Regions from separate parts of the Homo sapiens genome. Here all the other regions are linked to region 5. The links are contacts of gene promoters, found by promoter capture Hi-C in blood cells and fetal thymus (Javierre and others, 2016). All regions are on one chromosome and are shown on one strand. The core of a region is centred on a gene start or on the middle of the fragment in contact, and the rest is flanking DNA. Distances in the headings are between cores, read along the strand shown.

The links. Contacts are between HindIII fragments. The CHiCAGO score rates a contact against its expected background, and 5 or more counts as called.
Region 1: a fragment that was not itself captured here is called in contact with the fragment with the promoter of FAM131B in region 5 in 7 of 17 cell types (M0 macrophages, neutrophils, activated CD4 T cells and 4 more); the score reaches 7.6 in M0 macrophages.
Region 2: a fragment that was not itself captured here is called in contact with the fragment with the promoter of FAM131B in region 5 in 1 of 17 cell types (neutrophils); the score reaches 7.8 in neutrophils.
Region 3: a contact is called between a fragment that was not itself captured here and the fragment with the promoter of FAM131B in region 5, in 1 of 17 cell types (neutrophils). The highest score is 5.2, in neutrophils.
Region 4: a contact is called between a fragment that was not itself captured here and the fragment with the promoter of FAM131B in region 5, in 6 of 17 cell types (neutrophils, monocytes, M0 macrophages and 3 more). The highest score is 9.7, in neutrophils.
Region 6: a contact is called between a fragment that was not itself captured here and the fragment with the promoter of FAM131B in region 5, in 1 of 17 cell types (neutrophils). The highest score is 6.8, in neutrophils.
Region 7: a contact is called between a fragment that was not itself captured here and the fragment with the promoter of FAM131B in region 5, in 1 of 17 cell types (neutrophils). The highest score is 5.9, in neutrophils.

What each region holds. Positions count from the first base shown.
Region 1 is chr7:142,858,247-142,861,390 of GRCh38, reverse strand. It overlaps EPHB6 (EPH receptor B6), which reads right to left. Exons shown (of 20, transcript NM_004445.6): 2 at 205-339. Among named protein-coding and RNA genes, the nearest start is that of EPHB6, 4.7 kb to the right of the region's middle. The HindIII fragment of the contact is 701 bases long and covers 1,207-1,907 here.
Region 2 is chr7:142,910,674-142,913,950 of GRCh38, reverse strand. TRPV5 (transient receptor potential cation channel subfamily V member 5) reads left to right here. Exons shown (of 15, transcript NM_019841.7): 13 at 1,201-1,469. Among named protein-coding and RNA genes, the nearest start is that of TRPV5, 21 kb to the left of the region's middle. The HindIII fragment of the contact is 4,505 bases long and covers 1-3,277 here.
Region 3 is chr7:142,890,813-142,893,762 of GRCh38, reverse strand. No RefSeq gene overlaps it. Among named protein-coding and RNA genes, the nearest start is that of TRPV6, 6.5 kb to the right of the region's middle. The HindIII fragment of the contact is 333 bases long and covers 1,142-1,474 here.
Region 4 is chr7:142,999,589-143,002,688 of GRCh38, reverse strand. No RefSeq gene overlaps it. Among named protein-coding and RNA genes, the nearest start is that of OR9A2, 26 kb to the left of the region's middle. The HindIII fragment of the contact is 1,734 bases long and covers 946-2,679 here.
Region 5 is chr7:143,361,265-143,364,162 of GRCh38, reverse strand. It overlaps FAM131B (family with sequence similarity 131 member B), which reads left to right and starts at 1,450. Exons shown (of 7, transcript NM_001031690.3): 1 at 1,450-1,587. The coding sequence starts at 1,560. It overlaps FAM131B-AS1 (FAM131B antisense RNA 1), which reads right to left and starts at 2,457. Exons shown (of 3, transcript NR_183342.1): 1 at 2,106-2,457; 2 at 906-973; 3 at 1-262. The HindIII fragment of the contact is 5,612 bases long and covers 1-2,898 here.
Region 6 is chr7:142,931,391-142,934,511 of GRCh38, reverse strand. It overlaps TRPV5 (transient receptor potential cation channel subfamily V member 5), which reads left to right and starts at 766. Exons shown (of 15, transcript NM_019841.7): 1 at 766-1,180. The coding sequence starts at 1,053. The HindIII fragment of the contact is 1,328 bases long and covers 1,160-2,487 here.
Region 7 is chr7:143,015,556-143,018,879 of GRCh38, reverse strand. No RefSeq gene overlaps it. Among named protein-coding and RNA genes, the nearest start is that of OR9A2, 9.9 kb to the left of the region's middle. The HindIII fragment of the contact is 1,550 bases long and covers 492-2,041 here.

The sequences.
Region 1 (3,144 bases), core at 308-2,807, 500 kb after region 5:
ATTCTTTCAACTAAATCATTGATTAAAATTTTCTTTAAAACTATAGGATAATAACTGTTTAGTAAAGTTAATCAAAACAGTGTTCATATCCTCATAATGGCTTCTCAGAACTATGTAGTAAGCTACCTCTTATATAAAACCTTCCTGTGCCTTCAGAAGGTACACCACTAAGCTCACGAGCAAATGAACAGAAGGAATAGCTACCTCCAGTGTCACAATGAAGACAAACAGGCTTGGCACCTCCTTTGCTTGTTGATTTAGAGATTGGCGGTTCTCTATCTCTCCTCGTGTCTGAGTCTCAGAAGTCTGTGAATTGGGTGGACTATAATCCCTTTATTTCTGTGAAGAAAAAAAAGAGACATGTTGCCCAGATTGCTCAAAAGACATAGAACTGAGAGGAAAACAAAAAAAAAGCCAATTAGAAGAGAAGTTGTGATTTGTTTTTCCTGGATATATATGGCCTTGGGATTGTTGAAAGCTATCATAAAACAAAAATCAAACTATGAAACTTTAATTGCAACAAATATGAAAATCATAATTTGATTCCTACTAATTTTTTTCTGGCACTGCGGGCTGTGCTGTCCATGAAGTTATCATGGAAATACACCATTTCTACATACGCGTGGGCTGATGTAGAGTGGGCACCTGCCAACTAGCCCCTGAAACTCACCTTTTATACATCTTTAACCCTATTTGTGAAATAGAGAGTTCAATTTACAGCCTATGGAGACAAGTAAGGAGCATTTCCATATGGCAAATTGCTCTTAAGTAATGTTCTTTGCAAAAATGTCTGAAATGTTACTAGGATCCTTCACAGATGAAATAAATGCTTTGGAGAGGAACGGGGAGATCATGAAGTAAAAAGCAGGCATAGCTATTAAATTCTGTAACCTTGGCACCGTCACCAGTGGCTGTTTAATAAATATCCTAAAGTAATTCATGTTGTAAGTGCATCCCCTCCAAACTCTCAATGGCTTAATTTGGAGACGTGCTTGACACACTGAAGCAAACCAGAGTCACGGAGTCCTTAGAAATACTGTTATCAGGGAAAGAAAATGCCAGCAGCAGGTTTTTAAACAATGAAGGCTATTTTACCATTTGCCTAGAAGTTATTCTTTAAAATAGTCTCTTTCTTTCACTCAGAACATGGATGGATTCTGTAATCTGTACAAAGAAGAAACAGTAAGCCCTGTGTCTTCTCAAGCTTACAACTAGGCAAATAATCATGAAGAAGGAACAATAAATATTTTGGAAATATTTCAATGAATTATTTTGAAAGACAGCCAAGCAAGATAGAAAAGATGCGCTGCAGATAGTATCAGCTGTCCAATATGGAACACTCTGGAAGATGAATAGCAAGATATTTGCTTTGATGACCCGAACTACAAGGAACACAGTCACTTGTGGTTGCAATAGGGCGTGCTTGCATAGCCTTAGCATGCCTCGTAATGACAACACGAAGCTGGCCTCCCTCCAGAAGATCCAGAAAAGAGCAAAAGCAATTATGAAACATGGATGTTAAGGCCACTCAGCTTCTGCCATCAAGAAACAGCATAAAGAAAAGAAGAAAATGGAGACACTGCCTGTGGATGACCACTTCAGCAATTTTTTGAAATTTTACTAAGAACAAAGATATTCATTAAAAAGAAATGGTTGAGGATCTTAAAGTACCCAGAAGGATACTTCTAATGTTTGATGAGGACCTCTTTTAGATTCAGATCCAGATGACTGAAGGTTATAAATACATTTTTTCAGAAAAAAAAAATTGTTGCTGAGTCAGACTAGGAAGTTAGGTGAGTTCTTACTTATCAAACAAACCAGATAAATTCAAGACTTTTAATTTTAATATATAAAAAGAATATGGGTGTACCCCTGTTGCAGGAATCCAAATAAAGAAAAAGGAAGCTTTATTAAGATATGGAATAAATTGCTGTCAGCAAATTCATACCACTGCAGATTCTTTTGAAGCCAATTTCAAAGGCAGAAACATAAGTGACAAGAACACGGCTGCTCCACATGCCTGGAATGCTAAGTAAGCAGGACTCAGAACTTGATTTTTCAAAGGTGTCTTCAATGGTTGTGGGCATGGAGCATCTTCTGCATTTGGTCCAGGAGAGCATCCCAGGGACAGGCCAGTACATTTCTCCTGCCACAGAGATGGGAAGCAGCCTCTGCAAAGCCAGGCCCCTTGCTCCTCTCTCACAGCCTGCTTGAGAGTCCTCTCTCCTCTGACTTACAAAAGGAACTGGTCAGTATTTAGAAATTCTCTAACACAAGAATGTGCAAAAGAACTTATCTCCTTTAGAAAAATATTCACATTTCAGATGTGTATAAGGTTTTAAAAATATAAAACCAGAAGCAGCAGAAATGTGAACATAAAACAATGGTGGAGAAAACGAGACGGATTAGACAAAGTTTTAGGTAACAAAAATTGCAGTCTATGACTTTATAATATGTTCTCAGCTTCTTTTATAGATATATCACTTAATATCTTTTTGATACAGTAGAGACAATAGATCCACAAGCCTGCTACATCTCTTTGGTTTACAAAAATAAGACTGTTTCTTAGGTATCAAGGTTGTGTTTTGTTTTCAGAAACTGGCAAAAAGTAAAGATTTGTAGAATCATAGGTTACAAAGCATAGCTTACGAGTTATGTTGCTATAAAAATGAAATATTTCACTTTGGGAGGCCAAGGTGGGCGGATCACAAGATCAGGAGATCGAGACCGTCCTGGCTAACACGGTGAAACCCCGTTTCTACTAAAAATACAAAAAAAAAAAAAAAAATTAGCTGGGCGTGGTGGCGTGTGCCTGTAGTCCCAGCTGCTGGGGAGGCTGAGGCAGGAGAATGGCGTGAACCCGGGAGGCAGAGCTTGCAGTGAGCCGAGATCGTGCCACTGCACTCCAGCCTCGGCGACAGAGCAAGATGCTGTCTCAAAAAAAAAAAAAAAAAAAAAAAAAAAAAAGAATGACTTAAAAGTAAATTAAATTGGTAAATTGGTAAGAATTTAAAAAATTAATCGTGCTCCAATTAAATGCTAAATATGATATTTTCATGAGCAAATCAAGCTTACTTAATATAGTTTATGCACCTCAATCCACAAAGTGAATTTTTAAAGATTAAATAATGTAAGCCAAATAAG
Region 2 (3,277 bases), core at 94-2,593, 450 kb after region 5:
GAGAGGGTGGGTGGAGGAGCAGAAGAAAGTCCTTAGGGAGGGGCAGAAAGAGGAAGGCCCAGGTCTGAAAAGCAAAAGGCCAGTAGCTCAAATTCAGTCCTCAGTGTCTGCAACTGACCATCTATTAGACAAGAAGAGGCACTAGAAGGATCCCCCCATCTCTAAAAAGCAATGACTCAGTGCAGAGGACTCTATTACTGTCCTCAGGGATTTCCCGTTCAATGGGGATTCCCACAAAACAACAGACCAAAACAAAAAACAAACAAAACAAAACAACAACAACAAAACCCCCACCAAAATCTGAAATGTGAAAGAGTAAAACCATGGCGTTCTGCCTGTTTGGAGTTTTCCACCCCAAGCCCTTATGTACCCTTTCCTCCCACTCCCTGGCCATCTACATCTATACATAACACAGATTACAAAATGAGGTGATGGTCCCAGAGTGGCTTTCTGTAGATGTCCTCTATCCAGAACTCTCTAAATGTTCACTTCTTGGCCATTGCACTTGCTTTTCTCTTAAATAAATAAGGAGGCAATGCTTTGTCATAGACCCTGTTTCTGCTCTCAGAATGTGCTTCAGCTCCCTATGCAGTGAGGAGGCTTTCAAGCAGTCCAGCGCTGTCCTGAAGTTCCCTTACGCTCACTGCTATCCAGTAGGCTCCACCCTAAGCAGGAATCCGTTTCCTATGTTGGTTCAGGTTCACTCAGGGAAGGTCAGAGTGATGGAGGGTTATCTAGAGGCCATCAAGATTAAAAAAGGGGCTCTTCTTTTAGCCTGTTCATGTGTTCTGTTCTTTAAAAATTGTTGAGGATTCCATACATTCTTGTAATAACTTGCCTTTTAAGTATTTGGTTTTCTAAAATGCAAAAACCAGTTAGGTGACCTATTATCCATTATCCATACAAACACACACGCTGCACACACAATTTTGTTGTTGTTAAATGACTATTACCATGACCATTACCCAGAGTGGTGAACTTAATCATAGGACATCTTAGGGTTAGACAGTTCCACAGGAAACTACATTTATTAGTATGTAATTATCTGTGCATGTGTGCAAGTGTATTTAGATAGATAGATAGATAGATAGATAGATAGATAGATAGATAGATCAGAGATAGAATAAGTGCTAACCATGTCCATGCTTATTGTGATAACTCCATTATCCCATCTCCATGTCCTCTTCCTGGGCGGAGCAGCGTTCTATATCATTTTCCAGACAGAGGACCCAACCAGTCTGGGGCAATTCTATGACTACCCCATGGCACTGTTCACCACCTTTGAGCTTTTTCTCACTGTTATTGATGCACCTGCCAACTACGACGTGGACTTGCCCTTCATGTTCAGCATTGTCAACTTCGCCTTCACCATCATTGCCACACTGCTCATGCTCAACTTGTTCATCGCCATGATGGGCGACACCCACTGGAGGGTGGCCCAGGAGAGGGATGAGCTCTGGAGGGCCCAGGTGAGTTTATTTGTGTTAGTCTTGCTAAGAAGCAGGGGTTGGAGAGAAAAATCAAAGTGGAAAATGTTATGGTGGATCATTCTTAAAAGAGTCACAGAAAAACCCAGTGAGGCTGTCACCTCAGAAGAGGTTTGTGTAAACCTGAGGTACATGTGGATAAATGGAAGGGACAGAAGGAGGATTAAATGGACGATAGTGGCAAGAGGTGGGGTTGTTGCTCACAGGGGAAAAGTAGACCTAGGATTGATCCTTGAGTCCAGTGGGAACTAGAAGTGACCTTGTTCTGGTATATTCCAGTTTTCAATTTGGATCTTATCTTCTATTTGCTTCTGTAAATCCCTGTTTCTCTATGATCTTTTCTTTATATCACCATAGACTGATAAATATTAGAATTAGAAGTGACCCTCAATGGCCCTCAAGTTGACCTCCTACTTAACATAATAATCATTTATTGGTCAGAATGTCATTCAATATCTTCTCTAATGCTGATTAGTACCTTATTATCTTGCAAATTCAGGTAGAGGTTGGGAGGAAGGGAGTTTTCCCATATTTTTAAAGATTTTGTTATTAGACATTTATGTCGCATTGAGCTAAAACCTATCTTCTTAAAATTTCATTCTTTGGCGCCAGTCTTTCCCTCTCATATATCACAGAACACATTCTTCCATATAAGCACCATTCAAATATTTGAATATAGCCATCATTTTTCCCTTAGACTTTTCATTCATTTAATGATGATCATTTAGACCCTGCTATGTGTTGACAAATGCCTAGGAGCTAGGGACATGAGCATAAACACAACAGACACCATATGTGCCCTCATGGAGCTGACGGTTTAGTTGGAAAGACGGGCATGAAGTGAATGACTTCACAAAAAGCTGTAAAATTACAGCAGCAAAAGTGCTATAGAGAATGTAAGGTGCTAAGAGGAGGATACAACAGAGGAATCGGACTGGGAAGTGAAGACATGCTTTCCTGAGGGAGCAACATTTAAGATGAGAACCCAAAGGTGAGCAAGAACTAGGTAGTTAAAAGGAAGGAGGGAAAAGGATGAAGGTCAAGGTTAGTAGCAATTAGGACTCTTGGCTACAGGGACAGAAAACCAAACTCAAACAGACTTGCAGATTTTTAAACAGGGGGAAGAGGATGTGTTAGTCCTCATAAATGGGAAGTTTAGAGAATTAAACTAACTTTAGAGGTATCTGGCCAGAATGCAGATCCACATCTTATACATTACATCCATTCCTCTGTTCGGCTCTCTTTTGACCTCTCTTCTAAGGCAAGCTCTCCCATCGTGTTTGTGAGATCATTTCTAGAAGCTCCAAACTCCAAAAAGAATGAGGATGTGCAATGCAACACGCAGCTCCGAGGGCCCCACTCACGTTGTATTCTGTGAGGCTCCTGGTGCCAGGCAAAACTGCAGGCTTTAAAAGAACATCTTTCCCCCTGCCAATTCCTTCCATGTTCCATCTCATGGGAACACATTCGGGTCATAGGCACATCGTTGAATCTAAGGAAAGACCAAGGACTAGATAGTGGAGGTGTTGGTGATGGTGGTGGAGGGGAGGTTTGGGGGAAAATAGATTAATTAAGCACAACTGTGTGAAGCCCAGTCCACTCAAACCAATGCACTAAAAGTGATGAGGGAGCAATTCCCTAAATGAAAAATGGGTGCTGTTACCCGAGGAAGGACGGGGCTGCATGATGGCTCAGGAGGAACAATAAACATTTCTTTCAAGGCAAAGAAGAACAGCTATCCAGGGTAAGAGCACAGAATGACTGGAAGTCCTGAGCTAGGAGGGAACTTG
Region 3 (2,950 bases), core at 59-2,558, 470 kb after region 5:
GATCTCCTGACCTCGTGATCCGCCCGCCTCGGCCTCCCAAAGTGCTGGGATTACAGGCGTGAGCCACCGCGCCCGGCCGTCTGTACATGTTAAACCATCCTCCACTCTTAACCAAGTCTGGCATTTTGCTTTTTTTTTTTTTTTAAGGAGGTGGTGGGGTGTTTGGGTGACTGCTTGCCTTAAATAGAATTCAATAGAGTTCTTCTCACTGTCTGCCCTTTCACTGAGTTTGTTGGTTGAAGAGAGAAGAATAAGAAGTGCAGGTGGGGACAACCAGGGGAAGATTGGCAATCAAATGCCACCCCTGCAGGCCTGCTGCCCAGAAGGCTATGGTGAGCAGACTGCATGCTTCTGGAAAAGAATTCTGCTTTGGGTTTGAATTTTTAACAGCCATGATGGGCTTTGGGATAAAGGCTTGTTCCTGTCTTCTGAGCCCCAAATAATGCTGTTTACTCTGGGCTTAGTGGCCCCCACATACCCTCCTTTCCCCACTCTCTGGCTAAGAGGCAACAGCCAGGTTCTCATGGAGTGAAAACTGTTGGTGACCTAGAGTCCAGAGTCTGGGGACACTGCCCTGGATTGGGGAGCCAGCCCACTCCCGCCTTGTCAGAGGGAACACGCACGTTGTCCCCTCCATATCTGTGGCTTTCCAGAGCTCCAAGAATCACCATGGTTCAGGAGCTTCATCCTCTCTTCAGCCAGAGCTACTTGGACCACAGAATCCTGTCATTCGGAAGGTCAGAGGAGAATCAGAGGCTTTGTGTCTTCATGTTCTGCCTGCGGCCTGCTCTCTCCTTCCTGTGTAACTCAGAGACAAAGACAGTCAGGCTTAACCTGAGAGATGAGCCCTTTCTGACACAATGAAGCTTTGAGCTCCATCCTGCCTATAGCTGGAAGCTGAGGGGGGCTACCTGGGATAGCAGAGAATGGAAAAGGGAACAGGGGCACTCAATATCTGGAGTCCTTATTTTTGTAGATCAGGAAATGAAAATGTAAGTGACTTGGCCAAGGACACCAAGTGATTTCTGGTCAGCTGGGGTTAGAATGCAGCTGTCTTTATTACAGATCAATTGCTCTTTCCATTTTACTTCTCCCAGAAAGCCGATCCGCTGCAAGGCACACTTAGCCTACTTGTAAAGCTTCCCAAAGGGCTGCAGCCTCTCTTCTTGTTTGTCTTTTGTGCCTGCAAGAGAAGAGATGGGGCCAGGTATGGTAGAGTGAAGAGGATTGGGGTCCAGTTCTCACAGGGAGGAGAACTTGGGGTCTCATGAGGAAGAGAGAAAAAGATGAGGGGCAGAAAAAAGAGGCTTGGGGGAAACTTGGCCAGAAGGACCAGAGGCTGGGCCCAGGGCAAGACTGAAGAGCTTGGCATCCTCCTGCGGGTACCAGATGTCAGGGGACCCATGCAGGGGGCAGGGGGATTCTAGCTGCAGCTGGGCAGAGCAGGTGGGGCATATGGGCTTCCTCCAAAGCTTCAGGCCTCCTCTCACAAACCCAAGAGGGTCAGTACCCATTCTCCCCAGATCAGCACTCAGCCCTTCCCCTGACATCTTCTGGCTGGGGAACTCAAACTCATTGAGAGGGTGATGGAGGGGCTGTAAACTACATGAGCACTCCCAAGGTTGGACCCACCTTCCACTGAGGAGGGGAGTGGGAGAGGAGAGGGGTGAGAACTGGCAGACAGTGGGGAGAAATGGAGAAGAGGGGACGGTGGCCATACAGATGCCCACGTATGCCCTTTGGGTGCATTCTACACAGGGGTAGGGGCCCAGGAGGACTGAATGCCTGTGGGTCTTGAAATCTATAGACTGCTGGGAAGATGCTGGAAAACAGGCACCTGCGTGCACACACACACAATTGCTCTGGAACATCACTGTCATGTATTGATTCATTTTGACACAAAATACACCATGCATACATTTATGTCAAATAACGTGCACATGCATATCTAGATGGTAAAACTGGCTGCATGGTGTGGCTGCTCATCACCTCTGCCTCCCTGTGCCCTATTTTCATCTCCAACTCAGCCCTTCAACCACCCTGCTCTTGGATCTTGCCCCCAGATCTTGCTAAGGAAGCGTGTGGAGTGTGAAGCTCCTTGGGCGCGGAGGCTCCGTGGGGCCAAGGACTGGGAGGTAGGAAATGAGGGCTTGAAGCCCCAGGGATGGAGCTACAACGAGTGATTGGGATGAGAAAAGGGATCCGGGACTAAAGTCACTTTCTAGGGAAAGGTGCATGGCAGTTCTGCAATAAATTAGACCTCTTGACCTATGAAAGTTGAAGTGACTTCGTGTGCATTGGGACCGTGGGTGAAGCATATTTCTTCAGATGCGCTGGATGTTTGAGTACAAAAGGACATTGGAGAGTTTCAGAACAAAGTGCTTCCCAGGGAACTGCAGAGCCAGCGCGACAGTCAGATACCTCCAGTCAGGCACCGCAGCAGCGTACCGCGCCCCCATCCCTGGGGTGGGAGGTGTAGGGGGTAGGGTGTGTGTGTGTGTGTGTGTGTGTGTGCGGTGTCTGTAGTGTGTGTGCATGATGTGTGTGGTATATGGTGTGTGTGCAATGTGTGTGGTGTGTGACGCATGTGTGTGTGGTGTGTGTGTGGTATGTAGTATGTGCGGTATGTGGTGTGTGTGTGGTAGGTGTGTGCTGCATGTGTGTGCTTTGTGTGGGGGTTGCATGGTGTCTGCTGTGCATGTGTGTGTGGTGGTTGTGTGTGTGTGGTATGTAAGTGGTGTGTATGTGTGGTATGGGTGGTGTGTGCTGCCTGTGTGTGTGCTGCATGTGGGTGTGGTGTGTGTGGGCTGTGTAGTATGTGGTGTGCATGTGTGTGTGGTGGTTGTGTGTGTGTGTGTGGTATGGGGTGTATGTGTGTATGTTGATGTGTGTATATGTGGTGTGTACATGTGCATGTGTGTGTGTCTGCATGTGTGTGTGTCTGCATGTG
Region 4 (3,100 bases), core at 563-3,062, 360 kb after region 5:
CAGCCAAGCTGATCAGTTTTCACATGCAAACTGACTTCCCATTTATTTGCCCTGTTTCCAAGGACTGCATGAATTTGGAGCTCAGAAATAAAGTCAATTGGGGAAGATAATGGTGGATAAGAGATATTTGAACAGCCAAAAATGTGAGAGAAGGAAGGGAGATAAAGCTTTGAATATTTTATAAAAGAGGAGGAAGAAAAGAAGAATACTGAGAGGTTAAAGAAAGTGTGGACTTTAAAAACAACTTCTGGGATATTGAAAAATCTTTTCAAACAGGCGAATCAGGCAAACCCAGGGACTTTGTGATCATATGAAATCGAAGTGAAAAAAATAACCAATCAAATCTTCCATCTTCTGGCTAACTTCAGATTTGCCAGAAGAGGTCAGCAAAGACATTAACATCAGTCTTTGCCCTCCCTCGAGGCAGGATGGTGGGTTAGAAAGTGCTTTCTGCCACTTTGCTTAGAATTTATGCAGGGCTTCCATTATCCATACCCCTATCTTTTTTAGGCCCTCTTTCCAGAGTTTAACAGCTGCCTGAGCTCCTGGTGAGAGGATGGACCAATCTAAAATAAATAATAACACACATACCCTTTGTCTTATGTAATGACAGATCTTCAATTTAAATTTATGTACTGCATCTCTATGTAAACTAATTAAAATTTCTGGCATGTTAGCCTATGCAATTAGACAAGAGAAAAAAAATGCAGGGCCAAGATGTTAAAAAGGAGGAGAAAAAAAGATTAACATGAATTTTAAATAATTTGTTTATCTGGAAATCTCAACAAAATAAAGTAAAAAACCAATGTGGCTGGGCACAAAATTTATATTGAGAGTCAAAAGACTTCACATATAAAACACATTAAGTTAGAAAATATAATGGAAGGAAAGAACCTCATTTACAAAAGCAAAAGCAAAGAAATATAACATTATTAGGAATAAGCTTAACAAGTAAAGATTTACATTTAAACTAGATTGACATTTAAAAAAATGCTCCTGAAAGACACAAAAGTAGATTTGAGCAAATGGAAAGGTGGAGTAAACAATACAAAGATATCAATTCTCCTCTAAGTGTATCCATAAAAATGATACAATCACAATTTAAAAATCAATAGTATTTTTTAAATCTAGAGAAGCAGATTACATTTTATTCATGCATTATTTCATTCATTTATATTTTTAGAGACAGAGTCTTGCTCTGTCAGCCAGGCTGGAGTGTAGTGGCATGATCATAGCTCACTACAGACTTGAACTGCTGGACTCAAGTGATCCTCCCACCTCAGCCGCCTGAATAGCTGGGATTACACATGTGAGCCATCGTGCCCAGCTTAGATTAAACTTTTTATTATGGAAAAATAAACAAGCAAAAAATTTTCAAAAACATTCTGAAATAGAAGCATAATGAGGAATAACTACATCTGTAAAACAGACTATATAGCTATAATGTAAACAGTACTATCATTGGGAAAAAATGAATTATTCAATAAATGGTCAAACAAACTAGCAGCTACCTAAAAAACAAAAGTTAATTCCATTACTGCCTATGTCATACCAGGCTGTTTAAAATGGGTCAAATATTTAAATGTAAAAAAAAAACATAGATTTAACATAAGAAATAAAAGAATGTTTATAAAAATGGGTAAGACCTTTCTTAGGATGACTTAAAACACAGATGTCATAGAAGATTGACTTTATGAAGAATTTTTTAAAAATTTGCTATGGTTAATACTACCCCAAGGTAAACAGACACACGAAAACACCAGAAAACAATTTCAACTCATATCACAAAAGGTTAGTTTGCATCATGTGTAAAAAGCTCCTATAAGAAAAAAATAAAACTACTCAGCAGAAAAATGGGCAAAAGATAAGCACATGTGAGAATATTTTCATCTTCATTCATAAGGAGAACAATAAAAATTAAAGCCATATTAAGATACTATTTTCAGTTATTAAACTGGCAAATGTCAAAAAGTTTTATAGTACACTGCGTGAAAATAGGTAGTGTAAAATGTAATAGCCTGCATGAAGGGCAATTATGTAATATATATTAAAGTGACAAATGCTTTTACGCTTTGGCCTAGCAATTCCTCTTCTAGAAATTGTCATTTAGATATTGTGTACAGGGAAATAATGTATGTATTCCATTTGGTGGAATAATCTGGAGTTATTAAAAAAGGAAACAAGAACCAAGAATGTCTTATGTATAAATATACAATGATCTGTACTGCATAGGACATATGTTCGATATACTACCATTTGTACAAAAAGAAAATGTGCTTGTATGCATTTGCTTATGCAGACGTATATGCTTAAAATTACCTCTGTAAAGACACAGAAGAAAGTGATAACATTGGTTGCCTTGAGGGAGGAGGATCAGATAGAAAAGTGTTTCAAAGTATCCTTTAAAATTTTGAACCATGGAAGTATATTATGCTTTGATGCTTTAATATTTGAATATAGTTATATCTTCTTTTGATATTCTGGCACTTTTAAAAACATCTGTATTTGGGGTACTATATGATCCTGATTCTCTAAGTGTTATAATTAACATATATATCTTATTAATCCAAAACTCAACTATGTAGTCTTTCTAGAACATAGCTAGGAATCAGAAAATAGCAAAATAAACCAGCAAGCAGACAAAATAAATGTTACAAAGTCCATGAACCACATAAAGCTTAGCCACTTTACTCACAGGAAGTCTGTTAGAGTCCCTTTTATCTGTTTGTTTATTTATTGGAAATAAGCTTGATAAAATGATTTACTCATAGAAAGGAGATAAGAAAAGACAGGTCTACTGAAAACAACAAGCAGTGTGTTAGCTCTCAATCAAGAGACATGTTGAGAGAAATTAAAAACCAACTGTACAAAGCTGACCAAAGGACTTAAGACATTTTTGTTCATTTAGTGCAGGAGCAAACCTTCTCTGAGATCATGTATATATGACAGTGGCATCCTAATGATCGTCTTGAGAAACCAAGAAGACATTCAGGTATGCTCAATAGAATCTATTAAGACTGATTTTCATGCCTAACATTTAAATAAAATATAAAAACTTTTGATGATTAAGTCTAAAACTTAGAGTCTCTGGAAAATGGAA
Region 5 (2,898 bases), core at 201-2,700:
CTCCACTATTGAAATAGGGTATCAGACCCTGCCACGAACTACACTAAACGATTAAAATCTAAGCAGACCTGCAACTGATTATTATCTCATTCCTTCCCGCGGTTTTATAGATGTAGATTTGGCTTATTTCTTCATGCACATACACCGAAGATGGATTCTGTCACCATAATCTCATCTCCTCAATCTGCAATTCAGTTGTTAGTGTCTTCTTCTTGCACATCTTCATCTGCCACCCCATGGGATGTAGCTCTCCATTCATAATCTAAAGGTTAGAAAGTTGCATCCATAAGACTTAGCCTCCCTGTTAGGAGCCCACACCAGGGACCCCTGGCCCATTGCCTTCTCTCTCTGCAACCTCGGAGAGACCTAAAAGTGGGCGAGGTGCAGTCAGAGCCTGGATGGGCACTTGCTTCTGTGAATGCCCACCTGCCCACTCTCTCACACTTTGGGCTTTCTGGGTACACCTTAGACAAAAGGGTCTCCTTGCCCTTTCTCATGCATCTTTTCTGGACTCCACTTCTTACCTGCTGTAACCACAGTGCTCATTTAACCCTTGCAACTTAGACCTTCATCTCCTCCCCATGGGGCTTGAGGTATCTACCTGGCCCAGTCCCACTAGCCAGAGGCCAATCTTTCTCTCTCTTTGCTGCTTCGGGACCGCCTTGCTTTCATTTGTCCGAGAAGATCACGTCTCAGAAAAGTTAAACTGGATTCAAGACGATGTCTCCTAGCCAGCCTCGGGTCCTGACATTGTTGTTAGTCTACTGCGAATGAACTGTCCTCCTCATATTCTCCAATCCCCAACCAGGCCTGGAGGTCAACTATCTGCACATCCCCACACCCACCCCTGAATGTCCAGCGAGCACAGAGAAGTGGACTACACGATTCACTTGCAAAGACTTCACCTTCTGTTTGGATGGACAAAATAGCGCACTCGAAACAACAGAGCCCAAAGCTGTGTCCAATCACGTTCCTGTGTGTGTCCCAGATGCGGCCCCAGGAGGAAAACAAGTGTTTGCGGAATTTGGTGGCCAAAGGCCCTTGGGCCTGGCTTTATTCTCACCACCACCCCACTTTCTCTCAGGGCATCCCCTGACCCCGGCCCGCAAAATCCATCAACCAGAACCTCGGGGTAGGCCCTGGGTTCGTGCCTCGGCTCCTGAAACCCAAGCCGGGGTTCTCCAGGAGAGAGCCCCGGGAGCGGGGCTTGGCACGGGCGGGAGGAGGGGGGCGGCGACGGCGGCCCCAGATCCCCGAGGGAGCGCCCCGGCACGGCCGGAGCAGGGGCGGGGAGGCGCGGGGCGCAGCCAATCCCCGGGCCGCCCCCTCCCCGGCCGCGGCGAGCCGAGCCGGGGCGGGGGAGCCAGGCGGCGGCGGCGGCGGCGGCGGCGGCGGCGACGGAGCTGCCGTGGGGAGGGATGGAGAGGGGAGGGGGGAGCGGAGCCGAGCGGAGACAGCCGCGGCGCTGCAGAGCGGCTGGGGCGGCGGCGCGGCTCCCGGTGCTCCCCCCGGCGCGCGCCCCGAGTCGGTGAGGGCCCGGCTCTGCGGCCCCCGGAGCCATGGGCTGCATCGGCTCCCGGACTGTGGGTGGGTACCGCGGCCGGGCGGGGGCAGGGCTGGGCCCCCCGGGCCGCCCTCCGACCCCCTCCCCCATCCCTCTCCTCGCGCCTCCGGGCGCCCCGCTCCGCACCCGCCTTGCCCTGCTAGCTCCTTCACTTTCCTTCCGTCCGCCCGCGGTCCCTCTGTCCCTCCTTCCTGCCCGCTCTCGTCTTGCGCCTCCGGGGCTGCCATCCCGCTCGGCTCGCTTCCTTCTCCCCGTCGCCCTCCCGCAGGCGCGGTCCTCTCCATCCTCTCCATCGCCCTCCTCTCCTCTGCCTCTCGGCCCGACGCTCGGTCCCCTCATCCCTGCCCCTCCAGGCCATCCGCCTCTGCTCCGCCGTCCCCAGCGCCTCCTCGCATCCCCCACTCCGGAGCAGCCCCCCGCGAAGGACCCTCGGCCTCCGCGCCAGCCCCGAGTTTCTTTCGCACGCCCCCCACGCCACCCCCCGCCGCCGCCTCCATCTGGCTCGGGTGCTTTGCCCCATCTCTCTCTCCCTCTCCGTTGCCTTTTACTGTCGTTCCTGCCTCCTCCGATTCGCTTTGTTCACGTGCGTTTTCCCTCTGGGGCGGGGGCGGGATGAGCCCGGGTTCCACGCCCGGAGGGACAGGGCCAGGGCCGGGTGGAGGGAAGGGGCTGGGGGACGCGGGGAGGAGATGGGGGCTTCGAGGCGCTGGGAGGGGTCGGGAGCCCGCGGCCCGGGAGGGTGGGGCCGGCCCTGCCTCGGCGGCCGGGGACCCGCCTGCACCTGTCAGCGGGGGCCGGCGGGGCGGGGCCGGCTCTTTATTTACCTTTGACGCGGGGAGGGAAGAGAGGCGCCTCCTAATCCATCTTCTCCCTCCAGCTTCTGCCTGGCTACCGCCCCTGACCCCCACCCAGGCACCCACTCCACTCTCGCCGCTCAGCGAATTCATCCGGCCCTCTCCCACCCCCTCCCCCATTCTTCCCCTTTCCAACTCCCAATTTCTCCCGCCTACACCTCCCGGTGACCTCAGGCTGAGAGAATAATTCGTATTATTATTACAAACAAACTCACTCTCCAGAAGCCTGATTTCCCTGAGACCCGGTTTATTTCCATGGATACCCCCTCCTCCTCTGCTTTCACCCCTTCTCCGCGGCTCTCTCCCTCCCCGCTGCCCCCCACAGCTCTGACTCAGCTCTCCGTCTCTCACAAAGGCCACCTCCCGCTCCCCTCTCCCCCCGCACCCCGCCCTCCCCTGTCTCCCTTCTCCTCAGGCTCTTCTCCACCTGCCCCATTCCTGCTGTGTCCGGAGGGCCATCTTTCCTCTTTTCCCCCAGTC
Region 6 (3,121 bases), core at 574-3,073, 430 kb after region 5:
GGTGTTTCATTCCTGGAAAGAGTCCCAAACATGGAATCACGATTTATTTGTCGTCTACCTTTGCTCAGTTTCTGCTGTTCAACCTCCATAATAACTCGAGGCCCCTGGGGGCTCCTCTGACCTGCGTCCCCAGGTACCAGAGCCTGCTCGGCGACGCTCCAGGAAGCTGGCCGGTCACGGTCATGAGGACTTCTCACAGAGAGGGATTGGCCTGGGAAGTGGGGGTCAGAAACCCTCCTTTGAGGTACAGGGTTGAGGACAGAGATGACCACAAGACACATAAATGGGAAGCTCTGAGAAGCAGCCCGGGGGTCTCTTGAGCCCTCTTGTGGAAGGAGGATCGGCAGTGATTGAGTACTTGTGACACATGCTTTACAGATGCTCCCGTGAGACGGCATAGCCGTTACCCCAATTTCACAGGTTAGGAACTGAGGCTCAGAAAGCTCACCTAACTGTAAGGGATAAGAGTCAGGATTTGAACCAGGCTCTGCCTGACTCTTGAGCTGGAAGTCTTTATTTCCTCCTCTCCCTCATGCAACTAACTGTGCACCTTGTTTGTGGACCCACCTTCCATCCCTTTTCTTTTTCCAAATTCCTCTGCCCCACCTCTTAGCTTCTCGGGTCTCAGCCATCCCAGCCCACAGTTAGGAACCTTCCTTCCCCTCCTCCTTTTCTTCCCCAGGGTGGTTCTGTGGCTGTGGGGCTCAGCTCTGCAAAGAGCTCCTCCCCCTCCAGGAAAAGCACTTCTCCCCAGGCAGGGCGGTCAGTCCCCTCAGCGCACCTGCATGCACACACACCACCTCACAACCACACACTGCATGCACACACATACACCACAGCCACACACTGTGCATACACGCACACCCCACAACCCACATACTGCATGCACACACACACACCTACAAGCTGCATGCTGCATACACAAGTCATACAGGAGATAAACTCAGAGTCCCAGCCCCAAATAGACCCCATCTCTTGCTCAGTTGCTGTCATCCTAGACCTGTTTCTTTCGCCACATTTCTATAATCTGCCAGTGTCTGCAAGGAGAAGACATGGGGGGTTTTCTACCTAAGGCAGAAGGGCCCGGGAGCCAACTCCAGAAACTTCTGCCCTCCTTTCTGGTCAGAGAACAAGACTGGGACCAGCACCTGGACAAGCTTCATATGCTGCAGCAGAAGAGGTAGGCTTCCTAGAACGATCCGTGGCCCTACCGCCGTGATCCTCAGACCCTCTGACCCACCTGGGCCTGCTTTCCGAATACAGCACCCTAGAAGTGTATTGTCAGTGCCAGTCACTCAGACATACCCTTTCCTTCCAGCCCACCTAATTACAGAATCCCAGCTGGCCCCTTTTAGTGGCGGTGGAGGATGTGGCTTTGGGCCACACAGGAAAATCTTGAGGGTAGACCTAAGGACAGAGGCAGAATGACAGCCAAGGGGGAGTGAAAGGACCAAAAAGGACCAGAGGGAAGAAGCCAGGTTGTGTGGGATGGGGAGGGAAGGCAGAAGCAGGCTGCTGAAGAAGGGATGCACTCCTGTGGGTGGTGGAAGCACGATAAGGAAACGCCATTCATTTGAATGAAAGTGGACTGTGTGGGAAAGGGGAGGAGCGCTTTGTTTGGTGTAACACTGGGTGCTGACCAGTGGAGGAGGGCAGCTCAGGTGACACTGGAGGGCTCTGAGTTCAGTCCATCTGCCTTTTATTGAGTCTACTGTGTGCAGAGGGGTGTTAGATCCCAATGACATAAAGATTGAATGAGACTTGTGCCTGCTCCTGGAGAGCTCTTAGTTCGGGCAGGGCTAGCACACCTGCAGGTAAATCATTTCATGGCTTAGCCCTGAGGTCCAGTCCCAGGAAGAGCAGCTGGGGCAGGGACGAATCCTGTGGGCTGCTTCTTCCTCCAAGTGTTTTGGGGCTTGCCTCCCACCCAACAGCTGCCTGAGGGGTGAGGTTGTTGAGCAGACATTAGCAGTCACAAAGGGCTCCCCTGTACTCCAGAAGATTCCTGTGCTTTGTTCAATGCCCTGCTGTCCTCATCTTCAAGTTCTTAATAATTTTGAACAAGGGGTCCTGCATTTGCAGTTTACACTGGGCCTGGTCCCAAGTACCTCTGAGCCCTCATACTGTCAAGCCCTCTGCTTCCTCATCTCCCCACCCAATACCTCCAGTGGAATCTCACCTTCCTGCTTTAGAGTGGGACCCCTGGGTCTCTGAGAAAGTGAGCTTCCAGCCCCAACTTGGACCCTCTGCAGAGGGGCAGTGGGGATAGAGGGCCAGGGAGGCAAGGACTTTGTTTGTGCAGTGGCCTCAGGATGGGGGTGAATTTGCAATCTCAGCCCTGACCACTCTAGGCTGGTCAGGGACACCAGGCTCCCTGGGACTGATTCCCTGGGTGAGACGGGGCAGGGAACTGACTCCTCACAAAGGCCCCTCCTAGGAGCACTGCCTTAACAGGTAAAACCAGGCCCCACCTTTAGATTAAAAGCTTCTTCTTTAAATGAAAACACTTTGGCTGGGCGTGGTGGCTCACACCTGTAATCCCAGCACTTTGGGAGGCCGAGATGGGTGGATCACCTGAGGTCAGGAGTTCGAGAGCAGCCTGGCCAACATGCTGAAACCCCGTCTCTACCAAAAATAAAAAAACTAGTCAGGCATGGTGGTGGGCACCTGTAGTCCCAGCTACTCGGGAGGCTGAGGCAGGAGAATCACTTGAACCCAGGAGGCGGAAGTTGCAGTGAGCCGAGATCGCACCACTGCACTCCAGTCTGGGCAATAGAGTGAGACTTCGTCTCAAAAAAAATAAATAAATAAAATAAAAACACTTTTTCGCCCTGGCTCCTGGGGCTATTGGAAGAGAGGGATTTGGAGGTGGGGACCTCAGAGGAGCCACTCATCGGCCTGTCCTTTCTGTTCTTCCCCCTACACCATGTGCTTGCCTTTGGGGCCAATACACATATGTCTAGTTGGAGAGGCTCCAGCTTTATCTCTTTCTGGGTTCAAATCTGGGTATGGTAGAAGCAAAGATTAACAGAGGTCCTGTAGAATGAGTATCTCAACCTGTTTTGCCTTGAGACACCCACATAAACAAGCTGTTTAGACCTTTGCATCTAAGGGTATAATG
Region 7 (3,324 bases), core at 17-2,516, 350 kb after region 5:
ATGGTAGCTGTTGTAACATCATAGCACATCACGTTTCTCATGTGTTTGTGGTGATGTTGGTATAAACAAACAAGCATACCATGCTGTGGTTGTATAAAAGTATAGCACATAGAGTTAGAAGTATAGCACAGTACATAATACTTGGCAATAATACTAATTTTACTAATTTATGTATTTACTATACTATGCTTTTTATCATTATTTTAAAATATACTCATTCTACTTACAAAAAAGGTGTTAACTATAAAACAGTCCCAGACAGATCCTTCAAGAGGTTATGCCAGAAGAAGGCACTGTTATCATAGGAAATGACAGCTCTATGCTTTTTATTGCCACTGACTACTTTCCATTGGGACAAGATGTGGAGGTAGAAGACAGTGACACTGATGATCATGACCATTTGTAGGCCTAGGCTAATGTGTGTGTTTGTGTCTTCGTTTTTCTTTTTTAAGTTTAAAAAGTAAAAAATAAATTAAGAATAGAAAAAAGCTTATAAAATAAGGATCTAAAGAAAGAAAGTATTTTTGTACAGCTGTAAAATGTGTTTGTGTTTTAAGCTAAGTGTTATTATAAAAGAGTCCAAAAGTTAAAAAAAGTTTATAGAGTAAAAAAGTTACAATATGCTGAGGTTTATTTATTATTTCAGAAAGAAACTGTAGTGTTGTTTAAGTGCACAGTGTTTATGAAGTCTACAGCAGGCAGTGTACAGCAATGCCCCAGGTCAACACATTTACCTATCATTTCTCACTGACTCACCCAGAACAGCTTCTAGTCCTGCACGCTCTGTTTATGGTAAGTGTACTATTTTTTATCTTTTATACTGTATTTTTAACATATATTTTCTATGTTGAGATACAGAAATGCTTGCCACTGTCACAATTGCCTAGAGTATTCAGTATAGTAATATGCTGTACAGGTTTGTAGCCTAAGAGCACTAGGCTATACCATCTAGCCTGTACCATCTAGGTTTGTTGAAGTACATTTCATGATTTTCATACAATGACAAAATCACTAAACAATGCATTTCTCAAAATGTATTCCCGCCATTAAGTGATACATGACTATTTCCCTGGCTGTGTGTACTCTCTAGCATTGCTCTTAGAGGGTGCAGTCTTGGTTATGTATGCAGATCCTGAAGTAATAGTGATTTTAATAGGGATTCTTTGACTGTCACACTGATCACACACAATTGTTAGGCTCCACTAATTGCCAGCTGATGGTCCTATTATTTTTGATAATGCCTGGGTTGTAAATTGTTCCATAGTCTGATACAATTAAGTTTGGATTCCTTTATAGCAGTGGCTTTGAGGTCAGATTTCTTAGCTCTCTCTTTCTCAGGGTCTCCCAGTTAATCTATCTGGTCTATAATTTATTTCTTACCTCTCATGAATGTATCAGCCTTCTTCTTTGCCTTCCACTAAAACCTTCATTGTTTTTGAGAGTTTCGTTGGACTTGAACTTTCCTACCCTCTCTTTCAAACAAAGTGAATTCTTTCAGAGCTTTCTGTTTTATGGCCTGGCTCTTCCCCTGAGCAAAATATCTGAGCCATAGCTCTTGAGCTGGGGGTGAGGATGGTGGTGCAGCTCTCACTAAGTGACAACTCTGCTTTAGTTTCAGGGTGGCAGACAGGGGTAGCAGCTTTGCACTTCCTGCTTTGCCTTTTCTGGTGTAGAGCTTCTACTCTGTGAGTGAGGATGAGTGGGATCCTAGCATCCTCAGCATGCTTCTCTCGAGCCAGGTCCCCTGCCCTATGAGTGAGGACTGGGTAATAGCAGGAAGTCTCTGACCTCTCGTCTTTCCTCTCCTGGAAATTAATTTCTGCAATGTGTACATGGAAAAGAGAGGGATGAGCAATGCTTGGCTACCTACCCCTTCTGGGAAGATACCAGAGCCCTTGACTGGGAGCTGATAGTAAAGAAGCCCAGTGCTCTTGGCTGCACGTGCCTGGAGTGGATTTCCTATCGTAATGAGCTGGGAGGTGGGAGGAAGGTAGTGGGTTGTAGTTCAAATATCATAGACTCTCACTCTTCTGACCAAGCTTTGATAGATTTTCTTAAGTAAATGTTTTCTTTGTTTGCTGTATGCTCTCAGTACAATTTCCAGAGACTTGAAGTGCTTTTCTTAAATGCTTTTTTTCACCAATTATGCTTGTTTAACTGGCCTGGCAGTCTGCAGAGCTTCCTTGTCAATCATAGTTGTGTTAAAGCTACTCACCGATCATTCCAATGTCTGGATCAGCTCTGCATTGAGTTCCATTGTTTTTTACTCTTGAAAATGGATTGTTTTTCAGCTGTTCTACATACAATTTACAGCCTTTTTTAAAAAAATTTGAGACAAGGAAACAATTCATTCTCAAGAGAAAAAAACAACAGAACTCAATGCAGAGCTGATCCAGACATTGTAACTATTGGTGAGCAGATTTAAAGCAACTATGATTGACAGGGAAGCTCTGCAGACTGTCTGGCCAGATAAACAAGGATAATTGTGAAAACAGTTATTTAAGAAAAACACTTAAAATCTGGACATGAACAAACCTCTTCTTCGGTTGAGCTTGAAGTCTGAGGGGTTCAGTTAATCTGGTTGGGAGGTCGAGATGTTTGGTGGTCTTTAGTGAACCATATGCTACACATTCCTTTAGTCATGCATTGCTGTTATCTTGGGCTCAGGGTATTTAGATTGGGTATACACATTGGGTTTAACACAGAAACAATAACCAGTAGAATACTTTAAATTTGTGAGATATTTTGAAATCTTCACAGTGTTATCACAGCTGTTTTTGATGTTGTTCTCTCTTTGGCCTAACCAGATAGATATTTGTATGAGGGATAATTCTTCATCTCTTGGTCATTATTTCCAGTATGCCTGGACCATGTGGTCTTGGTAAAACAATTTGTTTGCAACTTTTTCTCCTGAATTTATTTTTTATTGTTCTGAAGGCCATGAACCTGCACGGTTCAAAACTGTTTTGAACAGTTTTCCACAAAATCACCCATACATACATACATATACCCTTTTTCCCTAGATTTACTGGCAATTTCTTTCATATGGTTAACACTAAATACCATTCTTAGAGAAATGACCAGATTTTAAATTTGTTTTCTCTTCTTCACCATTACATAAATACTTGGATGCTCTTTTCCAGAATTAGGGTAAAGGGGATAAAGCTTTTTTCTTTAACTTTTATTTTTGCCTCCTGTTCACTTTTTGAGAATGGGATGTTAGCAGCAGTCCTGAGGACAACAAAAACTTATAATTTAATGAGAATTAACCAGGGATCTAACCCTATACATGCAAACACACAATTTATCTATAGCTTTGACATT